Linked DNA regions of Homo sapiens: regions 1, 3, 4, 5, 6 and 7 are each linked to region 2. Evidence: promoter capture Hi-C in 16 types of primary human blood cells and fetal thymus (Javierre and others, 2016). All regions are on one chromosome and are shown on one strand. The core of a region is centred on a gene start or on the middle of the fragment in contact, and the rest is flanking DNA. Distances in the headings are between cores, read along the strand shown. Region 1 overlaps CENPN (centromere protein N). Region 2 holds the start of WWOX (WW domain containing oxidoreductase). Region 3 holds the start of CFDP1 (craniofacial development protein 1). Region 4 overlaps GCSH (glycine cleavage system protein H). Region 5 overlaps CMC2 (C-X9-C motif containing 2). Region 6 overlaps ATMIN (ATM interactor). Region 7 overlaps CDYL2 (chromodomain Y like 2).

The links. Contacts are between HindIII fragments. The CHiCAGO score rates a contact against its expected background, and 5 or more counts as called.
Region 1: a contact is called between a fragment that was not itself captured here and the fragment with the promoter of WWOX in region 2, in 6 of 17 cell types (total CD4 T cells, activated CD4 T cells, naive CD4 T cells and 3 more). The highest score is 8.4, in total CD4 T cells.
Region 3: the fragment with the promoter of CFDP1 here is called in contact with the fragment with the promoter of WWOX in region 2 in 5 of 17 cell types (activated CD4 T cells, naive CD4 T cells, monocytes and 2 more); the score reaches 8.5 in activated CD4 T cells.
Region 4: a contact is called between a fragment that was not itself captured here and the fragment with the promoter of WWOX in region 2, in 7 of 17 cell types (non-activated CD4 T cells, activated CD4 T cells, naive CD8 T cells and 4 more). The highest score is 20.3, in non-activated CD4 T cells.
Region 5: a contact is called between a fragment that was not itself captured here and the fragment with the promoter of WWOX in region 2, in 10 of 17 cell types (non-activated CD4 T cells, naive CD8 T cells, total CD4 T cells and 7 more). The highest score is 31.7, in non-activated CD4 T cells.
Region 6: a contact is called between a fragment that was not itself captured here and the fragment with the promoter of WWOX in region 2, in 3 of 17 cell types (naive CD8 T cells, non-activated CD4 T cells and total CD4 T cells). The highest score is 8.9, in naive CD8 T cells.
Region 7: a fragment that was not itself captured here is called in contact with the fragment with the promoter of WWOX in region 2 in 6 of 17 cell types (activated CD4 T cells, non-activated CD4 T cells, total CD4 T cells and 3 more); the score reaches 19.0 in activated CD4 T cells.

What each region holds. Positions count from the first base shown.
Region 1 is chr16:81,020,109-81,023,017 of GRCh38, forward strand. It overlaps CENPN (centromere protein N), which reads left to right. Exons shown (of 11, transcript NM_001100624.3): 6 at 1-168; 7 at 2,489-2,590. CENPN-AS1 (CENPN antisense RNA 1) reads right to left here. Exons shown (of 4, transcript XR_007065134.1): 4 at 184-393. Among named protein-coding and RNA genes, the nearest start is that of ATMIN, 14 kb to the right of the region's middle. The HindIII fragment of the contact is 2,115 bases long and covers 603-2,717 here.
Region 2 is chr16:78,098,404-78,101,557 of GRCh38, forward strand. It overlaps WWOX (WW domain containing oxidoreductase), which reads left to right and starts at 1,251. Exons shown (of 9, transcript NM_016373.4): 1 at 1,251-1,482. The coding sequence starts at 1,376. RefSeq lists an enhancer at 1,485-1,984. The HindIII fragment of the contact is 3,217 bases long and covers 1-2,520 here.
Region 3 is chr16:75,431,737-75,434,890 of GRCh38, forward strand. CFDP1 (craniofacial development protein 1) reads right to left here and starts at 1,767. Exons shown (of 7, transcript NM_006324.3): 1 at 1,553-1,767. The coding sequence starts at 1,616. RefSeq lists a silencer at 1,203-1,442 and enhancers at 1,753-2,262, 1,806-2,373. The HindIII fragment of the contact is 10,360 bases long and covers 1-3,154 here.
Region 4 is chr16:81,082,705-81,086,079 of GRCh38, forward strand. GCSH (glycine cleavage system protein H) reads right to left here. Exons shown (of 5, transcript NM_004483.5): 4 at 1,759-1,890; 5 at 1-259. The coding sequence ends at 162. Among named protein-coding and RNA genes, the nearest start is that of C16orf46, 7.2 kb to the left of the region's middle. The HindIII fragment of the contact is 4,810 bases long and covers 1-3,375 here.
Region 5 is chr16:80,999,314-81,002,464 of GRCh38, forward strand. All of the region lies in intron 1 of CMC2 (C-X9-C motif containing 2), which reads right to left. Among named protein-coding and RNA genes, the nearest start is that of CMC2, 6.0 kb to the right of the region's middle. RefSeq lists an enhancer at 1-47. The HindIII fragment of the contact is 2,873 bases long and covers 379-3,151 here.
Region 6 is chr16:81,046,545-81,049,523 of GRCh38, forward strand. It overlaps ATMIN (ATM interactor), which reads left to right. Exons shown (of 4, transcript NM_015251.3): 4 at 1-806. Among named protein-coding and RNA genes, the nearest start is that of CENPN-AS1, 7.7 kb to the left of the region's middle. The HindIII fragment of the contact is 3,345 bases long and covers 1-2,979 here.
Region 7 is chr16:80,798,856-80,801,833 of GRCh38, forward strand. The region is part of intron 1 of CDYL2 (chromodomain Y like 2); the gene reads right to left. Among named protein-coding and RNA genes, the nearest start is that of CDYL2, 4.3 kb to the right of the region's middle. The HindIII fragment of the contact is 5,077 bases long and covers 1-2,978 here.

The DNA of each region.
Region 1 (2,909 bases), core at 410-2,909, 2.9 Mb after region 2:
AGCTTCAGAGAAACTGAGGAGAATGCAGTCTGGATTCGAATTGCCTGGGGAACACAGTACACAAAGCCAAACCAGTACAAACCTACCTACGTGGTGTACTACTCCCAGACTCCGTACGCCTTCACGTCCTCCTCCATGCTGAGGCGCAATACACCGCTTCTGGGTCAGGTATGGAAAAAATTATTACAAGCTATAATATTTTATTATCCTATCTCAAAGGTCTATATAGATTTTAACTGTTGAATAAGTATTTGATAGAGAATACTAGGCCAGGTGCAGTGGCATGTACCTGTGGTCCCAGCTACTTGGGAGGCTGAAGTGGGAGGATTGCTCGTGCCCACGAGTCCAAGGCTGCCGTGAGCTGCGATCACAAGACAAAGCAACACCCCACCTCTAAAAAAACAAAAAAAAGATATAGAATACCACATGTAATTCTTGTTCTCCTAAAATAAGAAACAGAGTGTTGTTATCTGCAGATGGGAACATGGCATAAGATATTAGATTGGAGCTATATTTTATTGTTTTTTGATCTAGAAATAATGCATACTTAATATAAAAAAATGCAACCGATACAGAAGTCTCTAAAGATAAAAAGTCTTCAAAGCTTCATACCCCTTTTCCCTATTCCGTTCGTTCAAAATAACTACTGTCAAAGTTTGCTATTTCCTTTGACAAGATGGTTATTAGAAAAGCCAGGGTAGGCCAGGCGCGGTGCTCATGTCTGTAATCCCAATACTTTGGGAGGCCGAGGCAGGTGGATCACCTGAAGTCAGGAGTTTGAGACCAGCCTGGCCAACATGGTAAAACCCTGTCTCTACTAAAAATACAAAAAAATTAGCCAGGCGTGGTGGTGGGCACCTGTAATCCCAGTTACTTGGGAGGCTGAGGCAGGAGAATTGCTTGAACCCGGGAGGCAGAGGTTGCAGTGAGCCCATATCGCACCATTGCACTCCAGCCTGGGCAACGAGAAAGAAACTCCGTCTTAAAAAAAAAAAAAAATTAACATAACATTTCCACGTGGTTACAAATGAATATACCTCATTACTTTTTCATAATTGTATAATTTGCTTATTAATGAACATTATTTTCATTTGTAACCATTTCTCCCACATTCCATACACAAGGAGACTGCTTTCACATAAGATGTAGCCTCTGTTCCGAGCCTGCTTCTCTTTATGGTTCTGCCTTTAATATCACAGGCTTCCTAGCATCTTTCCCCAAAGTTAGTTCTCCCTAAATTGGCCTGGCACTTGCTGCTACCACTGTTAGCATTCACAACCTCAGTGGCACCTTCAATTGGTTCCAGAGCTGCCACATCAGCTGGTTGTAGGCGAGCAGCTCCACCATCCTGGCTGCATCATGTCCTGTCACTCCACAGCAGAGTGGGGTGGAGGTGCGGTGTGGAGTACCAAGGACTCCACTGTTGTGACCAGGCGAGCCCTAGGTAGTAAATGACTACTTGCTTGTCATTTAAGTTTTTTGGTGGTTTATTGAAATGGCAAAGACTGCTACTCACTTCTATTTCCTTAAAACACTTCTTTACATTTGGGGTCTCCTGCTCCATGATACATAGTGGTCTTTCATCCACTTATAGCCAGGTGAGTACACCTTGCCACAGGTAGTTTAAACATTACCCCAAAGGCTAATGTTCTTTTTTTTTTTTTGAGACAGGGTCTCACTCTGTCACCCAGGGTGGGGTGCAGTGGGGCGATCTTGGCTCACTGCACCCTCCACCCCCAAGGTTCAAGCGATTCTCCTGCCTCAGCCTCCCAAGTAGCTGGGACTACAAGCACTCACCACTATGCCTGGCTAACTTATTTTTCTATTTTTAGTGGAGGTGGGGTTTCACCATGTTGCCCAGGCTGGTCTCAAACTCCCGACTTCAAGTGATCCACCTGCCTTGGCCTGCCAAAGCGCTGGGATTACAGCCGTGAGCCACTGCGCGGACTAATGTTCATTTCTATTGTGTATCTTAAGGCAAACTTGTCTGTTCTCTAGATCAGGTTAAACATCTTATCCTATCATAGTAATTCTGTTTCAGTCTTCTTTTCCCCTAATGACAGGAAACTCTTATGAGCTGTATTCAATACACACTTATTTCTTCAGTATTTGCCAAAAAGCATACATATCTGCGTTTTTGTATGGCAATATCATTATGGTATTAGATGACTGATATTCAAAAACAGTAACATTTTGAGTATTTATTGTTTATTCCAAAGTCTGAACTTGATTTATTAGTAACTCCTAACTTTAAACAGGATCGCTTTTCTAAGAAATGATACAAAAGACTGCATTTATCAGAGTATTAATGCCATTAACCACTTTGTTTTTGAAGCTCAGTAACAGGCTATCAGATGTTTTTCTAGACTTCTTTTTACACTTACGGGGAAACTATTCCCTAATTGCAGCTCTTACATTTTACTTTGACAAGTATTATAAACACAGAGGCAGTAATCCTAGTAATAGTCTTGCAAATTTTCATTTCAAGGCGCTGACAATTGCTAGCAAACACCATCAGATTGTGAAAATGGACCTGAGAAGTCGGTATCTGGACTCTCTTAAGGCTATTGTTTTTAAACAGTATAATCAGGTGAGCCAATCAGTGACTCTCTTTAAAGGTAAATCTTTATTTTCTCTTTGACACAGGAGTTAGAAGCTACTGGGAAAATCTACCTCCGACAAGAGGAGATCATTTTAGATATTACCGAAATGAAGAAAGCTTGCAATTAGTGAACATGAAAGGAAAATAAAAATTCCTCACAGTCATCTTTTTATAATTGTATTGTGTTTTATACCACTCATTAGTCACTGGAGTCTGTGTTGTAGATCTCAGCTTCCAAATCACCTGATCACACTAGAATTTGTTTTCTCTTTAGAGAAACTTCACATTATCTTTTGAAGCTAAATAT
Region 2 (3,154 bases), core at 1-2,500:
TTTTATTTTCCTTCCTTCCTTCCTTCCTTCCTTCCTTCCTTCCTTCCTTCCTTCCTTCCTTCCTTCCTCCCTCCCTCCCTCCCTCCCTCCCTTTCTTTCCAGATTCTGGACCTATTCCAGACTTACTAAAGGAAATTCTCTAAAGGTGAGGCAGTTTTTTAAAGACAGCAGCTCTCTCTGTCGTCCATGCTGGAGTGCAGTGGCCCGATCATAGCTCACTGCAGCCTCGACTTCTTGGGCTCAAGTGATCCTCCCCCTTCAGCCTCAATGAGTAGCTGGGACTACCGATGTGCACTACCACGCCCGGCAAACTAAAAAAATAATTATTTTTGGTAAAGACAGGGGTCTTGCGATGTTGCCCAGGCTGTTCTCAAACTCCTGGCCTCAAGTGATCCTCCTGCCTCAGCCTCCTAATGTGTTTGGATTACAGGCATGAGCCACTGAGCCCGGCCTAGCTACCCTGTCTGAGTTGTGCCCACTACACAAAGGTGTCAGCTACATGTGATGTCTGTGCATTTCTGGCCTGGACCGCACATTAAGTGCTCCGTAAACATCAGTCTCTATTATCAACAGTCTCTATTATCAATCAGTCTCTATTATCATCAGTCTCTATTATCATGAGTCTCTATTAAACAACAGTCTCTATTATCACAGTCTCTATTATGTGTTTTGGCTGAAAGAAAGTTCTCTAAAACCAGGAAATCAGGAATCAGCAGTTTTAAGTTCTCCAGGTTATATTTTAACATTGTGTTCATATGCAAAACAAAGGTTGTGAATCAGCACGAATGCTGGCAAGCCCTGGAAGGTTTGTGATCACGGACTTTCACGAGACCCCAAGGCAAGGAGAGACAGAAGCCCAGGACAACAGCATGGGCGCCGCTTTTTAGTCGGGCGCCGCTTTTTGGTCAGGCGCCACCTGGACTACATTTCCCATATCCAATTGCCGGGCTCCTGCAGGATTGGCCAGAACAACGCGGAAGTGATTACGGGTCGCCCAGCAACGGGCGGAGTCCTGGCCCGAAACTGGATGCGCACGCCCCTTCCCTGCGGCGGGGAGGCTGACAAGGCTCCGCTCTATCTCTAGCGCCTCGGAGCGCTCTCCGGCTTTGCTGTCTAGCCCGGCGGCAGCGCGATCTCTTAGGCACTTTCACCGCCTTCCTCTCCAGGCCCTGCCCCTTTGACGCCGGCCGTCGCGATATTGCGGAGACTGGATTTCAGCTTCGTGGTCGGCGGAGCGGCCCCTGGAGGGCGCAGTGCGCAGGCGTGAGCGGTCGGGCCCCGACGCGCGCGGGTCTCGTTTGGAGCGGGAGTGAGTTCCTGAGCGAGTGGACCCGGCAGCGGGCGATAGGGGGGCCAGGTGCCTCCACAGTCAGCCATGGCAGCGCTGCGCTACGCGGGGCTGGACGACACGGACAGTGAGGACGAGCTGCCTCCGGGCTGGGAGGAGAGAACCACCAAGGACGGCTGGGTTTACTACGCCAAGTAAGGGGGCCGCAGTGGGGCCGCGGACGCACCTGGGACCCTGCACAGCCCACGGACGCCACCTGCGCGGGGAGGACGCGCACTCCAGCGCAGCGCGTGCGGTGCAAAGTGAAAGTAACTGTTAAGGAGCTTCAGGGAAAAGGGTCCAGGGTTCCCAGTAGGGGCCGGCCCCCTTGGTGGGCCTCGGGTCCAGCGGGGGTCACCTGGTGGCTTCCCGGCGCGCCCTCTGCTGTTCAGGATGCAGCACTGCGCGGCGCGGCGAGGGCAAAGCGGCCTCATCCCCGCCAAAAAATAAAGATGTTTTAAAAAGCGCACATGCTCAGCTCCCTCCTGCAGGCTCTGGGTTGCAGGGATAGGAGTTTTGTTGTGTTTTGTTTTGTTTTGTCCAGACCGGTATTGCTCAGTCATCCAGGCTGGAGTGCAGGGGTGCCATCATAGCCCACTGTAGCCTCTACCTACTGGGTTCAGACAATCCTCTCATCTCAGCCTCTTGAGTGGCTGGGACTACAAGCGTGCACTACTATGCCCGACTAATTTTTTAAGTATTTGTAGAGACTAGGGTCGCACCATGTTGCCCAGGCTGGTCTCGAACTACTGGGCTCAAGCAGGCCACCTGCCTCAGCCTCCAGAATTGAGATTACAGGCGTGAGCCACTGCGCCTAGCCAGGAGTATTTTTTAGTAGCAGTCCTAGATAGCTTCACTATCATTTCCTGGGAAAGTTTTGGAAACCCCAGCAGAGCCTTCATCTTTAACTGTGTGACCTTGGGCCATTGAAATAACGTTTAATCTTGGTTTTTTCACCTGTAAAATGGGTTGATACGAGGGTCAGTTCAGGCACTGTGCGTAAAGCACATAGCACCGTGTCTAGTAGGTACTCTCTGTTCCTTAACTGTCGTTCCTTGATTGCTCTTAAGATACGACAGTGCCTCTTATATCGGCACCTTAGAATCACCTAGGAAATGTCCTAAATACACGTTTTGGGTCTCCATAGAGAACCTACTGTAGCCGACTCTCAACTTTGGGAGTCTCTTTTTTTAAGCTTTCCAGGTGAGGTGGAATATCACCTGGTTTTGAGAAACATGGATGTAAATCTGATTTTCAGCATCTGGGAAACTTTTTTTGTAAGAGCCTTTTTCTGGGCCCCACTTCCAGAGGGTTTTTCTTTTTTTTTTTTCTTTTGAGACGGAGTCTTGCTCTGTCGCCCAGGCTGGAGTGCAGCGGCGCGATCTCGGCTCACTGCAGCCTCCGCCTCCCGGGTTCACGCCATTCTCCTGCCTCAGCCTCCCGAGTAGCTGGGACTACAGGCGCCCGCCACCACGCCCGGCTAAGTTTTTGTGTTTTTAGTAGAGACGGGGTTTCACCGTGTTAGCCAGGATGGTCTCGATCTCCTGACCTCGTGATCCTCCCGCCTCGGCCTCTCAAAGTGCTGGGATTACAGGCGTGAGCTACCGCTCCCGGCCTTTTTTTTTTTTTTTTTAAAGACAGGGTCTCGCTCCGTCGCCCAAACTGGAGTGCCGTGGTGCGATCTCGGTTCACTGCAACCTCTGCATGCCGAGTTCAAGCGATTCTCGTGTCTCAGCCTCCCGAATAGCTGGGATTACAGGCGCCCGCCACCAGGCCTGGCTAATTTCGCGCTGTTGGCCCGGCTGGTCTCCAACTCCTGGCCTCAAG
Region 3 (3,154 bases), core at 517-3,016, 2.7 Mb before region 2:
GTGTGTGTGTTTGGGATGAGGGGAAGGAGGTCAGGGGCTACTAAAAATGATACCTACTATACATGGGTTAAATCAATAGACAACAGAAATATAATACCAAATTCAAAAGGTGGAAAGAAGTTTCTCCTGAGGAATATTAAATAAAATAGGGATGAGGGTGATGGGACTGGCTAACTTTTTTTTTTTTTTTTTTGAGACGGAGTCTCGCTCTGTCACCCAGGCTGGAGTGCAGTGGTGTGATCTCGGCTCACTGCAACCTCCACCTCCCGAGTTCAAGCGATTCTCCTGCTCCAGCCTCCTGAGGAGCTGGGACTACAGGCGCGTGCCACCATGCCCAGCTAATTTTTGTGTTTTTAGTACAGACGGGGTTTTACCATGTTGTCCAGGATGGTCTCGATCTCCAGACCTTGTGATCCACCCACCTCAGCCTCCCAAAGTGTTGGGATTACAAGCATGAGCCACCGCGCCAGGAATGGAATGGCTAGTTTTCAACGTGCCTTTTAGAAATACTTCACTAGCCGGGGCGCGGTGGCTCATGCCTGTAATCCCAGCACTTTGGGTGGCTGAGGTGGGAGGATCACTTGAGCCCACGAGTTCGAGACCAGCCTGGGCAACATAGCAAGATGCCATTTCTAAAAAAAAAAAAAAAAAAAAAAATTTAAAAAATTAGCGGGCGTGGCAGCCTGCACCTGCAGTCCCAGCTACTCCAGAGGCTGAGACGGGAGGATCGCTTGAGCCCAGGAGTCTGAGGTTGCAGTGAGCCAAGATCGCATCACTGCACTCCAGCCTAGACAACAGCAAGACCCTGTCTTTAAATAAAACAGAACAGAACAAAGTAAAACAAAGAGAATAGGGACGACTCCTGGGTTGTGTTTTGTTAGTCTGTTTGTTTCTTGTTTGTCTAGTCTTTCAACTGAAGATGTGAATGGGTGAAGATACTTTCAACGAGACGGTTTGTCTGGGGAAGACCAAGAAGGGGGAACAGAAAGATTTCTTCAGTAAGATTCATTCTCACCCCGTTCGGGTTGAGATCCCTAAGGAAAGAAAGTTCTGAGAGGAGAGGATGGGTGGACGTCACAATGAGGCAAAAAGCATCAAAGGGGGAACTTTCTATCAGAACTTTCTAACAACCAGGCGGAGAGCGGACAGCTCTATCTTGGACGGGGTGGTGGCCAGCAGCTCTCTCGGGCCAGGGCTGAAAAAAACCTCCAAGGCTCGGACTGCCGCCCCGACTTCTGAAGCAGCGGTGTCGTTCGGGGCTGACCGACGAGCGTCCCTAGCGACAAGGGGCCGTGTCCATGTGCCGGTTCCCGCGCTGCAAGAGGGGGCGGCGGCCGGAGCTGCCCAACGGGAGGGGAGCACAGAACCGCCACGCGCACACGCCTCGGGCCGGAGCGGCCGAGGATGAGGGGCCTGAGGGAGCGGACGCTCGAGAACAGGAGCCCCCCTGGACCACCTGGGCCACAGGGCAGACGCCCGCGGGGGCAGAGCGCGCCTCACGTGAGGCGTGGGGCGGGGCAATTCGCTTCTCGCCTCAGGCGGAATCGCTCACCCGACGGCACGTAGTCCTCGTCCTCCTCCGACGTAGAGAAGTCTTCGGAGTCGAATTCCTCCATGTTGCTGCCGCTCGACGCTGGTCAAACTCACAAGACCGCAGCAGCCGCCTCCAACGGCAAAGCTCTAGGGAGAGACCATAGAGCCCCGGCGGCGGCGACGGCAGCTAGGGCGGCCCCCGACAGCGCTTTGCACATGCGCAGAGAGTACTACGTGGTTGCCCTACGACACTTCCGGCCGATGCCTCCGGGCTGGCGTCCCTGAAGCCCTCGCTGGGAGCCCGAACCCGCCCGGACGCGGTGCATGCTGGAACTTGTAGTCTTCGGCGCTGCCTCGCCGCCTTAATATAATAAACCTGCTTAAATAAAATTACATATCTATGGAAATACAGGTGACCTTCATTAATCATTAATTCGTAATGCCAAATTCACTTACTTGCTAAAATGTATTTGTAACCCTAAAATCAATCATCACGGTACTGTCTGGGGTTCTTCCCGGGCATGCGCAGAGGGTGAAAATTTGGAGTTGGCGGAGGTAAGGTTCCCAGCTGAAGTTTGAACTGGGAGAAGCGCCGCCTTCTAGTCGCAGCTCCTGTGCTGTAAACAAAGAGTCCTTTCCGCAGTCTGTTTACTGACACTTTTTTTTCTGCTTTTTGTGGGTGGTTTTGCTTTCTAAAATGGCCCCCAAGCGTAGTGCTTAAGCTCTGCCCAGTGTTCCTAAGCGAAAGAAGACCGTGATGTGCCTTACGGAGAAAGTCCGCGTGTTGGATAAGCTCCAATCAGGCATGAGTTACAGTGCTGTTGGCCATGAGCTCAATGTTAACGAGTCGACAATCCGGTACATCAAGAAAAAGGAAAAGGAAATTCACCGATCTGTCCGTGAGGCCGCTCCGGATAGTGCTGAAGTGACCTCCATCGTGCGTGATGAAGCTATGACAAAGATGGAAAAGATGGAAAAGCGGCTAAATTTGTGGATTCATGAGATGTCAATCGATTAAAAAAAACATAGTGGACAGCATTGTGGTGAGGCTGAAAGCCAAAGATATCTGTGGTCACGTTACCCAGAGTCAAAGAAATGCTAAGCCCTTCTCGGCGAGTGCTGGCCGGCTCGCGCGTTTCAAAAGGCGATACGGGGTGAAAAATGTTAAACTTGCAGGTGAGGCGAGCTCTGCAGATCAGGAGGCTGCGGAAGAATTTTAAAAATACTTGCTAAGTGTTATACAGGAAAAGGGTTATGTGAAAGAGCAGGTTTTCAATGCGGATGAGACTGGCTTATTTTACAAGGATGTTGGCAAACGAACCTATATAATGCAAACGGCCTCCAAAGCCCCTGGCTTTAAATCATGCCAGGATCATGCACCCTTGTTATTGTGCGCCAATGCCAAGAGCGACTAAAGTGCAAACTCCTAATGGTGTAAAGAACCCAAAATCCACAAGCACTTAACGGGAAATACGTGAACCATCTGCCAGTCTATTGGAGGTGGAACAAAAAAGTGTGGATGATGTCTGATTGGTTCCACAACTGCTTCATCCCAGAAGCTGAACACTGTCTCCAGGGCAGAAACCTTGCCTTCAAGGGTTTTTTGTTTTGTTTTGTTTTG
Region 4 (3,375 bases), core at 409-2,908, 3.0 Mb after region 2:
AGTTAAAGGGCATTTTCTTTCATTAGCAGTGTTAACAGTAGTTTTTTTTTCCCCATCGGTAATACTAAAAGTTTCTATTCTAAGTCTTCTATCCACCACTAATTTAAGACAACTCTGCTGGCTTGCGTTATTTCATACTAGTTTATTTAGGAGTTCCATTTTCACTCCTCAATAGATTTTATGTATTTCTCATATGCTTCTTCACTCATAAGTTCATCTAGTTCTGAAGGGTTACTCAGTGTCATCTTGATCAGCCAACCTGCAACCAAAAGACAACCTTATATTCCACATTAACTTTTTAAAAAGTCAAATTCATCCAAAACGTAAAATAAATTTCTGAGCGCCTCAATCTTGTATTCTTTACAAAAACCATACATTATTTGTTCATAGAACTTTAAATTTTAGCCTTAAGAATTAAAATACTTGTATATAACAAATGAAAATAATTATGGCTAGAATAGATTCCACCATAATAAATTAAGAACTCTTAGGTTGTAATAAGCATCAGAAAATGACATTTAAATCTTTAAGGGCCGGGCACGGTGGCTCATGCCTGTAATCCCAGTACTTTGGGAAGCGAAGGCAAGCAAATCACTTGAGGCTAGGAGCTCTAGACCAGCCTGGCCAACATAGTGGAACCCCATCTCTACCAAAACCACAAAAATTAGCTGGGCGTGGTGGCAGTTGCCCTTGATCCCAGCTACTGGGAAGCTGAGGCAGAAGAAGTGCTTGAACCCGAGAAGGGGAGGTTGCAGTGCACCGAGATCACGCCACTGCACTCCAGCCTGGGCGACAGAGGGAGACTCTGTCTCAAAAAAATAATAAAAATAAGTCCTTAAATATATGATCCAAATACACAAGACCAGGTATGTCTTTAACAAATGGAACACTAACTACTGAGGTTAACGGGATTAGAAAGCAGTAGTAATTAGAAGGGCTAGGTGACAGACAAAAGAGAACTACAACCTAATCCTAGCTTTGCCATTTATCAGCCATGAGACCCTGACAGATAAATCCTTTGGAGCCTCTATTCATCTACAAAATAGAGAAAATTGCTGTTAGCTTACCTGATTAGATTATAAGGGTGAAAATGTGAGAAAACCAAAAATTAATGCAAAATATATATTTTTTTACCTCCCATGTCACACAATATGAGTGGCTGCTTTATGTCTGAAAAAGTAAATACTTTGCAGATGTTTACACCAAAACCAAAGAATCTACAACTGATATCAAGAAACTGCAAAATAAGGTAATGCTTTTATCATCAGAGATTTTTTTTTCTTTTTTTGAGAAGGTCTCGCTCTGTCACTCAGGCTGGAGTGGAGTGGTGCGATCTTGGCTCACTATAGACTGCAGCCTTGACCTCCCAGGTTCAAGCAATTCTCCCACCTCAGCCTCCCTAGTAACTGAGACTACAGGCACATTCCACCACAGCCAGCTAATTTTTGTATTTCTATAGAGACAGAGTTTCACCATGTTGCCCAGGCTGGTCTCCAACTCCTGGACTAAAGCAATCCACCCACCTTGGCCTCCCAAAGTGCTGGGATCACAGGCGCGAGCCACTGCGCCTAGCCAGAAATCTTAAACATAACTTTAAGTATTCAACTAACCTCTGTTTTTCTTTTAAAGCAGAACATCTCTATTTAGTACCAAGAAGTAGAAAAAGATGAAGTCACAATCAGCTAAACTTGCTTTAAATTCTAGATAAAATATTTACTGTAGTAGTAATTCCTTGAGAAATTTCTAGCAACAGCTTACCATCTTCATAACAAGATTTGTTTACAAGTCCTGGATTTTCTGCAAGAGCTTCATTAATTTCAGTTACTTCTCCTGATAAAGGAGAATAGAGTTCACTAGCAGCTTTCACACTTTCCAAAGCACCAAACTCATCTAAGTGGAAAAAAAATTAAAGAAAACATGAAATGTTAAAAGTCAGTTACTTGAAAACATAAAATACGAAAAAGTAGATTCCTGTCATACAGCTATGATTTTAAAATTCCAAATTTCTTTTTTTTTTTTTTTTGAGATGGAGTCTCGCTCTGTTGCCCAGGCTGGAGTGCAGTGGCGCAATCTCACGTCACTGCAAGCTCCACCTCCCAAGGGTTCATGCCATTCTCCTGCCTCAGCCTCCCGAGTAGCTGGGACTACAGGCGCCCACCTGCCACCACGCCCGTCTAATTTTTTGTATTTGTAGTAGAGACGGGGTTTCACTGTGTTAGCTAGGATGGTCTCAATCTCCTGATGCCGTGATCCGCCCGCCTCGGCCTCCCAAAGTGCTGGGATTATAGGCATAAGCCACTGCACCTGGCTCTTTTTTTTTTTTTTTTTTGAGACGGAGTCTCGCTCTGTCACCAGGCTACAGTACAATGGTGTGTTCTAGGCTCACTGCCACCTCTGCCTCCCGGGTTCAAGCCATTCTCCTGCCTCAGCCTCCCAAGTAGCTAGGATTACAGGCGCGCACCACCACGCCCAGCTAATTTTTGTATTTTTAGTAGAGACAGCGTTTCACTGTGTTGGCCAAGCTGGTCTTGAACTCCTGACCTCGTGATCAACCCGCCTCAGCCTCCCAAAGTGCTGGGATTATAACCGTGAGCCACCGTGCCTGGCCTACATTTCTTTAATTAAAAATAAAACCATAAGTTTTGTCAGGCTATAATAACCACGAGAAGGGTATATATTGTCTCAATAAAGTGGACCTATCTGTGTGTCCTGGACACAGTAAATAACAAATGGTGATGTGCCTGAATGCCAGATGTGTGTAGGTTCAGTAAAACTCCATGTTCTTGCAACTTAGCTGTGGCTCAGAAAAAAACAAAATGAAAACTTTAGAATGTTCCAGTGACAGTGAAGTACCCTGTATCAGATAACAATTATAAGCTCTGGGCCAGGCGTGGTGGCTCATGCCTGTAATTCCAGCACTTTGGAAGACCAAGGCAGGAAGATCACCTGAGGTCAGTAGTTTGAAACCAGCCTAGCCAACATGGTCTCTACTAAAATACAAAAAAATTAGCCGGGCGTGGTGGTGGGCGCCTATAATCCCAGCTACTTGGGAGACTGAGGCAGGAGAATCACTTGAACCCGGGAGGTGGAGGTTGCAGTGAGCCGAGACCATGCCATTGCAGTCCAGCCTTGGTGACAGTGTGAGACTCCGTCTCAAAAACAAAAAAAACGGCCGGGCGCGGTGGCTCACGCCTGTAATCCCAGCACTTTGGGAGGCCGAGGCGGGTGGATCATGAGGTCAGGAGATCGAGACCATCCTGGCTAACAAGGTGAAACCCCGTCTCTACTAAAAATACAAAAAATTAGCCGGGCGCGGTGGCGGGCGCCTGTAGTCCCAGCTACTCGGGAGGCTGAGGCAGGAGAATGGCGTGAACC
Region 5 (3,151 bases), core at 565-3,064, 2.9 Mb after region 2:
ATTGCCACCAAAAAAATAAAATACCCAGGAATACATCCAACCAAGGAGGTAAAAGATCTCTACAGGAAGAACTACAAAACACTGCTGAAAGAAATCACAGATGACACAAACAAATAGAAAAACATTCCGTGCTCATGGATTGGGAGAATCAATATCACTGAAATGGCCATATTGCCCAAAGCAATCTACATATTCAACACTACTCCTATCAAACTACCAATGGCATTTTTTCACACAATTAGAAAAAACTATCCAAAAATTCATATGGAACCAAAAAGGGGCTCAAATAGCCAAAAGAATCCTAAGCAAAAAGAACAAAAACCAAACGTATCACATTACCCTACTTCAGACTATAAGGCTACAATAACCAAATCAGCAAGCTTCTCCTACAAAAACACACACATGGACCAATGGAACATAACAGCCCAGAAATAAAGCCACACACTTTTGATCTTTGACAAAGTCAACAAAAATAAGCAATGGCAAAAGGACTTCCCATTCAATAAATGGTGCTGGGATAGTTGGCTAGCTATATGCAGAAGAATAAAAGTGGACCCCTACCTTTCATCATATACAAAAATTAACTCTAGATAGATTACAGATTTACACAGAATGCCTCAAACTATAAGAATCCTAGAAGAAAACCCAGGAAACACCATTCTGGACATTCACCTTCGGAAGAGAATTAGGACTAAGTACTCAAACACAATTACAACAAAAACTGAAACCTAATTAAAGATCTCAAAACAGCAAAAGAAACTATGAATAGAATAAAGACAACCTACAGAATAGGACAAAATATTCACAAACTATGCATCCAACAAAGGTCTAATATCCAGAATCTATAAAGAAATTAATTCAACAAGTAAAAAATAAATAATCCCATTAAAAAGTGGGCAAAAGGCTGGGCACGGTAGCTCACACCTGTAATCCCAGCGCTTTGGGAGGCCAAGGCAGGCAGATCACAAGGTCAGGAGTTCGAGACCAGCCTGGCCAATATGGTGAAACCCCATCTCTACTAAAGATGCAAAAATTAGCCGGGTGTGGTGGCGGGCGCCTGTAGTCCCAGCTACTCGAGAGGCTGAGGAAGGAGAATCGCTTGAACCCAGGAGGCGGAGGTTGCAGTGAGCCAAGATGGCGCCACTGCACTCCAGCCTAGGTAACAGAGTGAGACTCCGTCTCGAAAAAACAAAACAAATAAACAAATTTTAAAAAAAAGTGGGCAAAAGACATCAACAGCCACTTCTCAAAAGATATACAAGTGGCCAAAAAACATGAAAAAATGCTCAACATCACTAATCATCAGAGAAATGCAAATCAAAACCACAATGAGATATCACCTCACATCAGTGAGAATGGCTATTACTAAAAAGTCAAAAAAACACAGATGCTGGGGGAGGTTGTGAGAAAAGAGAATGCTTATACACTGTTGTGGGAATGTCAATTAGTTCACCCACTGTGGAAAGCAGTCTGGAGAGTTCTCAAAGAGCTTAAAACAGCTACCACTAGATCCAGCAATCCCATTACTGGGTATATAGCCAAAAGAAAATAAACCGTTTTACAAAAAGAAAAACATGCACTCATAAGTTCTTTGTAGCTCTATTCACAATAGCAAAGATATGGAATCAACCTAAGTGTCTATCAGTAATGGATTGGATAAAGAAAATATGTACATATACACCATGGAATACTAAACAGCCATAAAAAAGGACGAAATTATGTCCTTTGCAGCAACATGGATGCAGCTGGAAGCCATTATCCTAAGTGAATTAACGCAGCAACAGAAAGCCAAATATGGCATATTCTCACTTATAAGTGGGAGCTAAACACTGGATACTCACAGACATAAAGATGGCAACAAAAGACATTGGGGACTAATAGACGGTAGAAGGAGGGTAAGGGCTGAAAAACCATTAGGTACTATGCTCACTTACCTGCATGATGGGATCAACAGTACCCCAAACCTCAGTGTCATCCAATGTACCCATGTAAGAAACCTGCACATTACTTATATCCAAAATCTGAAATAAAATTTGAAATTATATATTTTTTAAAAGGCAAATACTTTAACATTCCACTTATACGAGGCACCTAAAGTAGTCAAAATCAAAGAGACGGAAAGTGGAATGGTGGTTACCAGAGGGAGGTGGAAGGGCAGGAGGAGATGAATGGGGAGTTACTGTTTAACAAGCAGTTTTACAAGATAAAAAGTATTATGGAGATGGACGGTGGTGATGGTTGCACAACATTATTAATGTATCTGATACCACTGAACTGTGCATTTAAATGGTTAAGATGGTAAATTTTATGTTACGTGCATTTCACCATGCGAATTTTATGGTATGTAAATTATACCTCAAGCTGTTAAAAAAAAACCTGTGAGAAATTCAAACTGCCCATCCACCTCCCACTCAACAGAAACAAAAAACTGTCTGAACAAATAATTCCAAAGGATTATAGCATAGCTACTATTTCAATTGCAACTTATAAAAATGCAGTAGGTCCCTGTACTATTCAGTAACTACTAAACACACACACACACACACACACACCACAGCTGAAGACCACAAATAAAGCCATTGCACCTAGTTAAGTATTCATTTGAAACGAAAAAAGAAAATGCAGCCAAGTTTAAATTTTGTTTGCCTGCCACTGACTCCAAGATCCTTCCAATGATATCAATTTTTGCCTTAGAAAAATTAAGTTTCATACAGTTCAGCAATTTAAGTTATCCAATATCGTACCAATATTCTGCACCTACATTTATGTGAAGTGTTAGTTTTCTGGTTTCTGCCTTATTTTTTCCTAAAGAAAACATACACTGGTATAGGCCAGATGCGGTGGCTCACACCTGTAATCCCAGCACTTTGGGAGGCTGAGGCAGGTGGATCACCTGAAGTCAAGAGTTCAAGACCAACCTGGCCAACATGCCGAAACCCCATCTCTACTAAAAATTCAAAAAATTAGCTGGGCGTGTTGGTGGGCGCCTGTAATCCCAGCTACTTGGGAGGCCGAAGCAGGAGAATCACTTGAACCTGGGAGGCAAGGTTGCAGTGAGCCAAGATGGCACCACTGACCTCCAGCTTGGGTAACAGCGCAAGTCTCCATCTCAAAAACAACAATAACAGAAAACAGACACTGGTTTAATCAC
Region 6 (2,979 bases), core at 154-2,653, 2.9 Mb after region 2:
GGAGCATGATCAAGTATGCTTTGGGGATTTTCTGTATTTAGGAGATCCTGGATTCTTAATTGTTGGCTAAGTTCCAGTCAAGTAGGAATCAGTGCAGCCTGTAAGTTCTCCACATTGACACACACACACACACACACACACACACACGACATGCTCCTTTCTGTGGCACATGCCTGTATTACTGAAAGCTAAATCCTCAAAACCTAGTAAGGGGACTAATGATTCATTAAAGTAAATTGATGGTTTTGCTACTAATTCCTATCCCATACATTTGACACAAAAGAAGTGTTGGTAATGGATAAATAACATATCCCGGGCAGATGAGCTCAACCTAGTAGGTAAGAGTTTGGTTTGGTCACAGTTGCCTATGAGTGTGGGTTTCAAAAGAAACATAAAGCCTTAACTTAGAATTTCATTATGTTTTAGAATCATCACTGCCTTAATATTCAAGCATCTATTTAAGTCCTAATAAAGGAGAAATGCATGTTTATGGCTTTTTTGTAAATATAAATGCAGTGATCTATGGCTTAAAAAATTTGTTTCTGTGACAATGTTTGTAAATCTAGCCAATAGAGTCATTTACAGAAGAAAAATGAGCATGTAATAATACAAGAACTGTTTCCCCCTCAAAACCTGAACCTGAATTATTTGTAAAAACTGAAATTTAATGATTAAAGAGAAGCCAGAATTGTACCCTTTTTTGTGAATTCTTGAACGTACTCATAAATATGACTTATTGTATTGCCTTAAGTTTTCACTCATTGTCTTTTGAAAGCCATATGATAAAATGATTTTATTTAATAATACCCAGTTATTTTCATTGTTTTTTCTTTTGTTCATGAAAATATGCTAACAGACAATTTTCCTAGAAAAGACACTCCAGGTAATACCAGCCAGATGGCTGACTAGAGGTCCCTAATGCTTGTTGCCCCCACAGAAAAGGACCAAAACAACAAATAGAATACATTTTGACTAGAGTATCTAAAAGAAAATGAGGCCTGGCATGGTGGCTCGTGCCTGTAATCCCAGCACTTTGGGAGGCTGAGGCGGGTGGATCACCTGAGGTCAGAAGTTCGAGACTGGCCTGGCCAACATGGTGAAACCCCATCTCTACTAAAAATGCAATAATTAGCTGGGCGTGATGGTGCATGCCTGTAATCCTAGCTACTCAGGAGGCTGAGGCAGGAGAATCGCTTGAACCTGGGAGGCAGAGGTTGCAGTGAGCCAAGCCTGCACCACTGTACTCCACCCTGGATGGCAAAGTGAGACTCTGTCTCAAAAAAAAAAAAAAAAAAAGAAAAAATGCTGGAGTATATCAGGGGAGTGGTAGAGAACCTGTGGCACACAGAGACTCAGGACGGCCAGAGAGAGAAGGGAGTGAAATACCCTGCTCTGCCACCCCGTCTCCCCAGTCAGGATGAGCTCAGAACCAAGATGGATTTCTGCCTGGGGGAAAAGGAAGGCAGAAGGTCGCCAGCAGGTCCCATTACCACCACAGACACCTGTAGTCTTTTCTGCTGGAGAATCCTGCAGTTCTCTCAAGCCCTGAGCCCAGTTTAGAAAGCATCCTCGAATTCACATGACTGCATTACTGCAGAGAAAAAGCCGACATTGTGACCCAAGCTACTACAGCATGGCACCATTTTCAACCTGGACCCACTGCTCTAGGGGACAGTAACCACTGCATCTCTCCATTCCTGAGGTTCTGCTATCACTACACCATCTCACACACAGCAGTGCAGCATCCCCCAGCTGAGGGGCTACAGCTCCCTACTCCTTGGGAACAAGCTGCCCAAGAGCTGCTCCATCTTAACCATCCTCGCGGCAGCACAGTCCTGAACTCAACTACTCAGAACCTAGGCCTAGCAGAACAGCCATGACCCTAGCACCCAGGCCCATGCAGTGCCCTGCCTCCAAAGGAACAGGAAGTGTTGCTCAGTGGGGAAGCCAAGCTCAAGCCAGTGGACCAGCCCTGCATCCCCTCAGCATGTAAAAAGCCGATACTCCATCCACAAAGGAGCCATACTCAACCCAGGATGCCAGCCACACAGTCTACTGCAGCCTAGGCCACTGAGGCACTTGCAGGCATTGCTGACATTGATTACAGCTGAAGAACCTGCATGAAGACCACACTACTACTGTACCCATACAGAACCAAAGCCAGTGTGCCTTACTCAACTGATACTTAGGCCCCATCTGCACATTAAAGCCTTTCCCTATGAAAGCCACTGCATAGAACTGGAAAAGGCAGCTGATCCATCAGCTGCAAAGAAATCAACATAGGAACACAAGAAACATGAAAAAGCAAACAAATATGACACCACCAAAGAAACATGATAATTCTCCAATAACTGACCCCAAAGTTAGATAGAAATTTATGAATTTCTTGAAAAGAAATTCAAAATAATGATCTTGAGGAAGCTCAGCAAGACACAAGAGAATACAGATAAGCAAAATAATTCTTGATCTGAATGAGAAATTCAAGAGAGACAGATATTTTTAAAAAAGAACAGAAATCTGATCTGAAGAATTTAATGAATGAAATAAAAAATACAATTGAGGGCTTCAACAGCAGACTAGATCAAGCAGAAAAAAAAAAATTTTCCATTTTTTTTTTGAGACAGAGTCTCCCTCTGTCACCGAGGCTGGAGTGCAGTGGTGCCATCTTGCTGCACTGCAACTTCCACCTCCTGGGTTCAAGCGGTTCTCGTGCCTCAGCCTCCTGAGTATCTTGGATTACAGGTGTTTGCCACCACGCCTGGCTAATTTTTGTATTTTTAGTAGAGAGGAGGTTTCATCATGTTGGCTAGTCTGGTCCTGAACTCCTGACCTCAGGTGATCTGCCTGCCTCAGCCTCCCAAAGTGCTGGGATTACAGGTGTGAGCCACCGCACCCAGCCAGAAAATAAAAAGAATTTCTGAATTTGAAGACAGCTCTTTTGAAATAACACATTCAAAGGGAATAAAGAGAGAATGAAAA
Region 7 (2,978 bases), core at 151-2,650, 2.7 Mb after region 2:
ATTTATAATGGTTTACAAATGGAAACTATCTAGATGTCCGATAACAGGGGATTAGTTATAGAAAACATGGTACATTCAAGGGAAAATTAAACTGTCATTTAAAACTCATAACACAAAATAATATTTTAGCATTTGAGAAAATGCTTACCTACATTATCTATATATAGATATATATAGATATATAGATATTTAAGTGAAAATAAAATAGGTTACAAAGAATATGTACCCAGTATCCCGATTTGGTTTTTTTAAATTACATAAACATGTGTAGAAAACAAACCCAGTCCTACTTTTGTAACTACCCCCAAAAGCTAACATTTTAATTAATTCAGATATCACATTAGTATTTATTGAACATCAATTACATGCTAAATATATAACAATAGTTCTCTTAGATATTATTTCTTTTTTGCTTTCATTTTTTAGAGATGCTTTCAAAAACAGAAAAGATAATATTCTCAAGCAACTCCTAGAGAACACCATCATCCCTATTAACACTTCCCCACTGTACCGTAAAATACTTGTTTTCTTAACTATATCTCCCACTGGGCTCCTGGAGGACGTGATCATCATTGTTCCCCAAGTGCCTCTCATATATTTGGTGGTCTATAAATATGAAATAACAAATGAATGATGGTGCTATGAATTCAACCACACCCACACTTCTTTTCACCATCTGAGAGAAACAGAAGGATCCAAATCTTGGTAATCTAAATGCATGCCTCCAATACAAAGATCTTTAATAATCACCAGGCCTGAACCACTTCTTAGCAATTGGCCAGGCTGCAAGGAGCCGTATCAACTCCTTACTAGGACAGCTTAAGCCCCTGAAGAAATTATCTCATGCACTAAGGAATGACCTGACATAAAAGCCTACTTGAAAATAAGCTGATGCCTGCCCAGAGGGAATAATTTAAAATAACTTTCAAGAGGTGGGAGAATCATATACTCATTCCATATTCATCAGGTGTCTTCTACGTGCCCAAGAATCAATCCAATCCAACTGATAACATTTTCTCTGAAGATAGCTGCCTCTTCAAATACTGGTACAGAGATTCAAGAAGCTGTACCACAGACCATCAGTTCTGCTAGTACATGTATTTCTTTGACAGGAATGACCTCAGGTGTGATTCGTAAATAGAGGAATGACGTCTGTGTGGGTTCATATGCAGTTTTTCCTAGCTTGTTTATACTTTGCAGCAATCAAGGTAAGCACTCTCACAGGGAAAGAGAAAGACTTAACAATGTGTGAAGACCTCAGAACAAAGCTGGAAATGCACTCAAGTGCCTTTCTTTAACATGAATAGTGGCTGATTTTCTAGCTTCAAGAACCACTATGCTTTCCACTATGTTGACCTCATGGCAAAACTGCAAGAACAGCTATGAAAACATTTCTCCTTATACAGATAAACGAAGAAGGCTACACCCTGGATCAGACTTAATTTCAATAAAATCGTCTCTCTTAGAAGCAAATGCCCTGTGCAATCCACAGAGACAAGAGGGAAGCAAAGCTCAATGTGGACACGGCAAAGGCTAGACCAACTTGCAAAAAAAGTTCCACAGCTCTTTAGCGGTCTGCCTCAATCCTGTTTTTCCCATAAACTCTGTTATTCTTAGTGGTGCGTGATTTTGCAGAATGCCAGGTGCAGATAGAGTCAGCCCTCCATATCCATGGGTTCCACATCTGTGGATTCAACCAACCACAAACCGAAAAGATCCAAAAAAAAATGGATAGTTGTGGACACTTCCCTACAGAGAGAGAACTGAGCCACCCCTACACACGGTTTTACCACCACCAAGAGGCCATGAGCTTGGGAAAGAAAAAGACAATAGAGGGTAACACTCAACAGAAGGACAACGAAGGTCACACAAGGGTACTTTATATACTTAAACCAGTCTTCTGCTCACTGATTCAGTCAACAAGTAATTGAACGTACAAGCAGGTAGAAACCCAGAGAGAGACAAGAAAACTGAGAGCCTATCCCACTGATTATTTCTTCCTGACACCCAAACATCTTAGCAAAAGATTGACTAGAATCAGGTTGCAAACTCTAAAGTCTACTGGAGCCCAGTGAATGATTTAAGAAGAATGGGTGCCTGGTAATAGGGAGCAAGGGGACAGGGACAAGCTAGAGATCATATGCTCCATCTAAAAGTGTTCAAATCGTTTTTCTTATCTACCATTGAGCCAAGTCAAAATGCGTATGCAGCCTAGACCTGGCTCACAGGCTGCCACTCCATGGCCCCTATGTTTAGCCGAATATAGACCAGGGCATCTGGCTAAGAAATTTCACTTTCGATCCAGACAGATACCTGACTCTAAGACATAACCCAAAATTTAAAATCACCTTCCTATAAGTGATGGCTACAATGCACCAGAAGATGATGAGAACTCCACTACAGGAGAAACAAACCAGAACTATCTATCAAGATCCAAGATTTTGGAACCTGAGCTTGATTTCTTATTTCTTCACTATGATTGAAGAGTGCTATTACATAAACAAAGTTTTCGTTTTCTGGTGTCTTTAAAAATCAGCACCTATTCCTAACAACTGCTTTATGGAGGTTCACTCTTTACAACTTAATTGTCTGAAATGCCAAAGAAAAGATGAAGAATCTCTACAATCCAAATCACACTTCACCATAAAGGCTCAAAGATAATGTCAGCAGACACACAGGTGAAATATATCAATTACAAACGTAAGAACTCTTGGCCCACTAAAAACGTGGTTTCTTGAGTAGAGATTGCGAGAAGCCATTTTATGTACACTTTAGTATAATATTTAATGAAAGTAATAAACAGGTCTCATAATTTAGAATGAAATCTGTTTTCTTTTTTTCCTTTCAAGGCCAGTCAACATACACTGGATATTCCAATATTTTTCTTAAATCAATATGCTACTTTTTACCCACATAACAACTTTACAGTCAGAAATATATATGCTAATGTACACTTAGCACTTCTTAATTGTTCTTAA